Regions from separate parts of the Homo sapiens genome. Here region 1 is linked to region 2. The links are contacts of gene promoters, found by promoter capture Hi-C in blood cells and fetal thymus (Javierre and others, 2016). All regions are on one chromosome and are shown on one strand. The core of a region is centred on a gene start or on the middle of the fragment in contact, and the rest is flanking DNA. Distances in the headings are between cores, read along the strand shown.

Region 1 (3,802 bases), core at 439-2,938, 540 kb after region 2:
TACAAATGATCAAAACTCCCTCGAGAAACAGAAGACCTGAAGAACACTATATCAATTTTAAAAATTGATTAATATAAAACCCTCTCATAAGCAAAACTTTAGGCCCAAGTGGCTTCATTGGTGAATTCTAACAAATCTTAAGAAAGAAATAATATCAATTCCACACAGGCTATTTTAGAAAATAGAGAAGGAGGTCGGGTGTGGTGGTTCACACCTGTAATCCCAGCACTTTGGGAGGCCGAGGCAGGTGGATCACCTGAGGTCAGGAGTTCGAGACCAGCCTGGCCAACATGGTGAAACCCCATCTCTAGTAAAAATACAAAAATTAGCTGGGCATGGTGGCAGCTGCCTGTAATCCCAGCTACTTGAGAGGCTGAGGCAGGAGAATCGCTTGAACCCAGGAGGTTGCAGTGAGCCAAGATCGCACCACTGCCCTCCAGCCGGGTGACAAGAGCAAAACGCTATCTAAAAAAAAAAAAAAAAAAAATAGATAACAGGGAAGGAGAGAAGCACTTATCAAATAATTTGATGAGAGCAAGCTACCCCGACACCAAAACCATTACAAGAAAAGGAAAACAGAGACCACCAATACCACTCATGAATATAGAAGGAAATATTTTGACAGACAGAATCTTTGCAAATTGAACCCGGCAACATATAAAAAAAGTAATATCCCATAACCAAGTGGATTTTATTATAGGAATGCCAGGTTGGTTTCACATTCAAAAACCAATCACAGTAATTCATTAATATAATAGAATAGACAAAATCACATAATCATCCCAATGAATATAGCCATGGTATCTGACAACATTAACACCCATTTGTGATTTTTGTTGTTGTTGTTGTTGTTTTGTTTTTTGAGACGGAGTCTCACCCTGTTGCCCAGGCTGGAGTGCAATGGCGTGATCTCGGCTCCCTGCAACCTCTGCCTCCCAGGTTCAAGCAATTCTCCTGCCCCAGCCTCCCAAGTAGCTGGGATTACAGGTGCACAGGCGAGCGCCACCATGACCAGCTAATTTTTTGTATCTTTAATAGAGACGGGGGTTCACCACGTTGGCCAGGCTGGTCTCAAACTCCTGACCTCGTGATCCGCCCACCTCGGCCTCCCAGAGTGCTGGGATTACAGGCGTGAGCCACCACGCCTAGCCAGCATACTTCCTATTTTGTCTTGTTTTCAGTTGTGTGGGGTGTTTTTTTTTTTTTGAAATTAACAAGTTGATTTAAAAATTTATATAGAAATGCAAAGATTACAGCATAGTGAAAACAATTTTTAAAAGAACTATGTTGGAGACTTTAACTGATTTACTTGAATTACTAGAGAAATTAAGACAGTGGGCTATGTATATGCAAGAAAAGTATATAGATATATATAAAGGAACAGAGTACACATACGTGGAACTAGATCCACACATATGTGGTCAACTGATTTTCAACAAAGGAGGCAAAGTAATTCAATGGGGGAAATGATCTTTTTTTCCAACAAATAGTGCTGGAACAACTAGATATCCTAATGTAAAAAAATGAAGCTTGATATTTATCTTATCTCATACACATATATTAAATCAAAATGGATCACAGACTTAAACAAAAGTGCTAAGCTATAAAGAGTCAAGAAGAAAATAGAGGAGAACATTTCCATATCCTGGGGATAAGCAAAAATTTTTCAATATGACAGAAAAGCACAAACCATAAAAGAAAAAAGTATAAATTATATCCATCAAAATTAAAAACATCTGCTTTTCAAAAGAAAATGAAAAGGAAAGCCACAGACTGTGAGGAAATGTTTACAACACACATATCTGACAAAGGACTCATATCATTCAATAGCTTCCTATTGAAGCTTCCAAATGATCCGTTTTTTTAAAGGGCAAACGATTTGAACACTTTACTAAAGAAAGTATACATGGCCGGGTGCGGTGGCTCACGCCTGTAATCCCAGCACTTTGGGAGGCCGAGGTGGGGGGATCACAAGGTCAGGAGTTCAAGACCAGCCTGGCCAACATGGTGAAACTCTGTCTCTACTAAAAATACAAAAATAAGGTGGGCATGGTGGCATGTGCCTGTAATCCCAGCTATTCGGGAGGCTGAGGCAGGAGAATCACTGGAATCTGGGAGGCGGAGGTTGCAGTGAGCCGAGATCCAGCCACTGCACTCCAGCCTGGGTGACAGAGCAAGACCCCATCTCAAAAAAAAAAGGAAAAGAAAGTATACATATGGCCAATATACACATGGAAAATACTCAACATCAGGGCAAGGTGCCAGACTCTGGAGGAATAGTTCCTCGAGGAAGGAACTTATCTGTGTTTGGGCTTATCACAGTATTCCACACACCTAGCACAGTGCCTGTCCACAAGAGATGTACACATTTATTTTCTGAATGAATGAAACAGCAAATGTTGGACTGGCGTGGCCTAGTCCTAAAAGGTGACATTTCACTTCAGATGAGACTGGTTTTTAATACTTTCCATTTTGGAAAGAGAATCTTGGATTCCTAATCCTAAGTAAGATAGGAAGTGATGAAGAGAAATTGTTTTCCTTTATTAGTTACTCATATGCTCACTGTTGCAATCATAGCTAAGATGACATCCAGAACATTTTAGGTTTGCTGCATACTTACTTGTATGTTTACTTTTTTAAGGAGCTTACTCTTTCTGACAATAAAACTGGCCTGGTGTGGTGGCTCATGCCTGTAATCCCAGTACATTGAGAGGCCAAGGAGGGCGGATCACCTGAGGTCAGGAGTTCGAGACCAGCCTGACCAACATGGCAAAACCGCATCTCTACTAAAAATACAAAAAAAAAAAAAAAAAACCAGCCAGGCACGATGGCGGATGCCTATAATCTCAGCTGCTCAGGAGGCTGAGGCAGGAGAATCGCTTGAAACCAGGAGGTGGAGGTTGCAGTGAGCCGAGATCACCCCACTGCACTCCAGCCTGGGCAACAGAGTGAGACTCCTTCTCAAAAAAAAAAAAAAAAGTGATACATGCCTTCTGTGAGGAGTATGAAAAATGCTGAAAAATTAAAAAGAAAATGAAAATTCCCTAAAATCCCATTGCCCAACTGCCGTTGAGCTCTTCCTTCTTGGAGTTCCTGCTTTCCACACATTTCATTCCATTGTTTTGGCCCCAACAACATAAAGGGCATGAAGACAGAAGATGCACAAAAGGAGTCAGGTGGGTCCCTTGGGGATGGAGGGATCCCCATGTGGAATTCCCCAGTGGGCAGTTGAAATGCAGTTCTAAACCAGGAGAGAGTTCAGTCACATCCCTAAGTGGGGAGGAAGAAGAATCACAGAGGTGTCAGGGAAAGCTTCAGAGAGAGGAGGAGGCAAGATAATGAAAAGGTAAGCCACAGACTGGGAGGAAGTATTTACGATACACATATCTGACAAATGACTTGAATCCAGGAGGCTGGCCAGAGAAGGAAAGCAGACCAAGGAGAAAGAAGTCTCATATAATACAGCCAGTTTATACTCTCTCCAGAAAGTATATGGCATAAAGCATTAGAAAGAACTCATTTTCAAGGCTGGGTGCAGTGGCTCATATTCCCACCCATATTCCCAACACTTTGGGAGGCCGAGGCAGGAGGATTGCTTAAGAACAGGAGTTGAAGACCAGCCTGGACAACATAGGAAGACCCTGTCCACAAACAAATTTAAAATTAGGCCAGGTTTGGTGGCTCATGCCTGTAATCCTAGAACTCTGCGAGGCTGAGATGGAAGAATTGCCTGAGCCCAGGAGTTCAAGACCAGCCTGGGCAACACAGGGAGATTAGCTGGGCATGGAGGCTTGTACCTGTA
Region 2 (3,950 bases), core at 128-2,627:
ATTAACATGAGCATGGTGTGCCAGGGTTTACAAAGTATTTTCATGAATATTAGAAAACTCGATCCTCATGAACAACTTGGTGTAGTACTGAAGAAACAGACTCCATTTACTCCATGAAGAATTAGACTCAGGGAAGGCAAACAGCCTTTTCCACAGTTCCCTACACTGTTACTACCTTGTGGAGGGAGGGGTAAGTTAACCAGGACCACTGACTCCAAAGCTTTTGCTTTTTGCTAGTGGCTGTAAGCACTAAAATTGGAAGTACATTTACATAAATAGTTTATGCAACCAAGCAAAATAGGCAGTGACTTGGGGGACACCCAGAGCGTAGTAGGAACAGAGTAGGTCCTTGCAGGTAGCTTTCTTCCCAGGTATACCACCAGACTGTCTGTGGTGCAGCTGGCTGGTTCCCCGCCAGCTTTCCCTCCTGACCTACGGTGTTTTAGGCAGAGGCTGGCTTTCTGGGGCAGCTGAGGAAATCTGTCCTTATCATCAACAAGGGATGCTTCTTCCTTGCAAGGACGAATTGTTCCTTGATCCAAGCAGCAGGGACACTTCCAGGCTTTCCAGGGGCACTGCTGCTTCCTCAACTTTTTCCTTGCAGTGACAGCCTGAGTGATCCGGGGCCCTTCCCAGGGTCTCATTCCAGGGATAGCAGTGCGCAAAAGGACCCTGTGATGAGGGACTCCTCTATCCCCTTCCTTCTCCACTTCATGGAAAGGAGGTCCCCAGGAGCCGACAAAATAGAGCAGTGGTCATCAAAAGTGGAGCTGCTTATATACAACTATAATTAGTCCACTTACAAAAAAGAAGAAAAAGGGTGGTGGTCTGGCACAGTGGCTTACGCTTGCGATCCTGGCATTTTGGGAGGCCGAGTAGGGAAGATCGCTTAAGGCTAGGAGTTCGAGACCGGCAACATAGAAAAACTCCCCCCCCCACCCCCCAAAAAAGGTTGGGCTGCCAATACTGACAGCGTGGGCACGCCTAGGAGCTTGTTAGAAATGCAGATTCTCGGGCTAACCTGCTACCTGCTGAACCAGAGTCTGCGAAGATGGAACCTGGCGATCTGCTTAAGAAGCTCGCCAGGCGGTTCTTAGACACTCAAGCTTGCAACCCGTAACTTTCTCAGTGACGCTGCCCCTCCCACGGAAAGGGGTGAATAATCCTTAGGAAGACAAGCAAACAGGTCTGCATCATCAATTTCTTCAGGCTGGAAAACCTGACGCAGGCGCAGTGACTATCACGCTTGGCCAAGGCCGCACGGCGCGCATGCGCACTAGAGGCCGCCCGCCGTCCCGCCCCCTTCAGGCTTTTGCCCCTTCTCGGCCTCCGCCACCGCTCCCCGCCCCGCGCATGAGCAGCGGCGGTTTTTTTTCCCATGGCGCTCTGGGGCGCGGGCGATTTGTAGGTAATGGCAGGCGTTCGGTCACTGAGGTGTAGCAGAGGATGCGCTGGCGGCTGTGAGTGCGGCGACAAGGGCAAATGCAGCGACTCCTCGCTGTTGGGCAAGAGACTCTCCGAAGACTCGAGCCGCCACCAGCTGTTGCAGAAGTGGGCGAGCATGTGGAGCTCCATGAGCGAAGACGCGTCGGTGGCCGACATGGAGAGGGCGCAGCTGGAGGAGGAGGCGGCGGCTGCGGAGGAGAGGCCGCTGGTGTTCCTGTGCTCCGGCTGCCGGCGGCCGCTGGGCGACTCGCTGAGCTGGGTGGCCAGCCAGGAGGACACCAACTGCATCCTGCTTCGCTGTCAGTTGGGTCGAGCCGGGCAGGGGGGGCGTGGGGTCGCCTTCTTCCAGGGGTGCCGCGCGTGGGCGGCCCGGGAGGAGGCGGGGGCTCCTTGGGGCTGCCCAGGGACTTTAAGAGCAAAAAGTCTGAGAGTGTGAGCTGTGGCAGGAAAAGGGGAGGAGGGTCACCCCTCCACTTTGGCTCTCGGGCGGTGGGTTCTTTTCTGGGGTCCCCGATCCCAGAAGAGCAGTGGTTGAATCAGCATCATCGTGAGCATTACTCAGAAACAAAGGGCGACAAAGAATAACACTTTTAAAGACCCTAAAAAAAGAGAAACAAATGGTCAACTAGACTGTAAGCACTTGAGGTGCAGCCAGTACTATTACTCCCCATAGAAATTAGCAGGCTGTTGGTGTATCAGCGGATGCCTCTACAGCCTCCAGTGATAGAGCCGCAGAGTTGACGGAACACAGTGCTATAGGGAAGAAAGGGAAGGAAACTTGCAATAAAAGCACCAACAACCCCATGAAAACTGGCGAGGAAGGAGGATGTAGCAAAAGAGTTCAGAAGAAGGCAGGAATTAGTTTCTAATCCTGGTTCTAGCAGTTACCTCTTACCTCTGTTGTTCCACTGTTCCCTCATTTTGATGTTTTTGCAGTATTTAGGGATAAAGTGGTTCACATATTTTTTATGAATTGGTGTAAGAATGGCTGTTGTTTTTGGATTGTGATTTTTCAAGATGAAGTTTTTTCTGTCTTTGAATGCCGTAAATGTTCCGATGGCAGTAATTCACCACCGGCTTATCGACGTTTCTGGAACGTTTTCCTTGGTGTAATACTGGGAATAAAGGAGCACACCAGTGTCCAGTAGTTAACTGAAAGTTGAGATTAACTCTTTGCACCTATCAAAATCAAACCAGGCCGAGCGCGGTGCCTCAGGCCTGTAATCCCAGCACTTTGGGAGGCCGAAGTGGGCGGATCACGAGATCCGGAGATTGAGACCATCCTTGCCAACATGGTGAATGAAACCCCATCTCTACTAAAAATACAAAAATTCCAGATCAGCCTCGCCAAAATAAAAAATTAGCCGGGCATGGTGGTGTGCGCCTGTAATCCTAGCCACTCCGGAGGCTGAGGCAGGAGAATCACTTGAACCCGGGAGGCGGAGGTTGCAGTGGGCCGAGATTGCGCCACTGCACTCCAGCCTGGAGACAGAGCGAGACAACGTCTCAAAAAAGAAAAAAAAGAAAAAAGCAGATTTTTGGTTAGGTAGGAAAAGCTCTTTGTTTGAATGAGATTCCCTTGTTTACATGTTTTTAAGGAATAACGTGTTTGATGTTACATCTTTCATTTTATTTGTTTGTTTCGATAGAGTGTATTTTTTGCCATGTGGGCTCTTTTCGTTGTTTTGCGTTACTTATAGAAAGACTGTTTTTGTTATTTAATTTTTATAACAATAGCTTTTAAATTTAAAACATAGTTCTAAAATAGTAGTTTAAAATTTAAAGAACTATACATTTTTTGATTTATCAGATTTAGATAATAGGATTTAACACCTCCCCACACCCCCCAGTAAAGACAAATAAATGAACTCGGATTCATTTCCATTCCTTCCTTACCCAATTTGAATTAGTTTAATTATTTTCATTTTGTCAAGGTTTATACATTTACATTCTGTACATTTACATTCTGTTCTGTAGCTATAACAGCCTAACTATGATTTTTTAAAATAGGATTATTTATTTAATAGGTTTTTTTTTAATAGGGTTATAGTGGGTTAACAGCCCTCTGTTGCCCAGGTTGGAGTACAGTGGCGCAATCATAGCTCACTGTATGTAACCTTGAACGCCTGCTCAAACTATCCTCCCGGCTCAGCTTCCCAAGTAGCTTGGGACTACAGATACACACTAACACCTGGCTAATCTTTAAATTTTTTGTAGAGACAGAGTCTTGCTATGTTGCTCAGGCTGATCTCAAACTCCTGGCCCCAAGCAATCCCCTGCTTCGGCCTCCTAAAGTGCTGGGAGTACAGATGTGAGTTACAGCACCCAATCCTATAAAGTTTATATAAATTGTTTTCCCAACTCCAGTACTCATTAACATAAAAAAGCTTCTTAATAGCTTTTTCATTCCTGAATTGTTTGATTAATCATTAGTGCTCCCCACGTCCACATCTCCAAGAAAATTTCAAGTTTATGTGCTAGAAAATATTTTCCTTTTTTTTTTT

The links. Contacts are between HindIII fragments. The CHiCAGO score rates a contact against its expected background, and 5 or more counts as called.
Region 1: a contact is called between a fragment that was not itself captured here and the fragment with the promoter of MIS18A in region 2, in 3 of 17 cell types (erythroblasts, M2 macrophages and M1 macrophages). The highest score is 6.2, in erythroblasts.

Annotation. Positions count from the first base shown.
Region 1 is chr21:31,736,574-31,740,375 of GRCh38, reverse strand. All of the region lies in intron 1 of LOC124905008 (a long non-coding RNA gene), which reads right to left. Among named protein-coding and RNA genes, the nearest start is that of SCAF4, 6.4 kb to the right of the region's middle. The HindIII fragment of the contact is 314 bases long and covers 1,532-1,845 here.
Region 2 is chr21:32,276,476-32,280,425 of GRCh38, reverse strand. It overlaps MIS18A (MIS18 kinetochore protein A), which reads left to right and starts at 1,377. Exons shown (of 5, transcript NM_018944.3): 1 at 1,377-1,745. The coding sequence starts at 1,412. It overlaps MIS18A-AS1 (MIS18A antisense RNA 1), which reads right to left and starts at 1,221. Exons shown (of 1, transcript NR_046576.1): 1 at 1-1,221. RefSeq lists enhancers at 964-1,183, 1,127-1,626, 1,627-2,128. The HindIII fragment of the contact is 2,727 bases long and covers 1,109-3,835 here.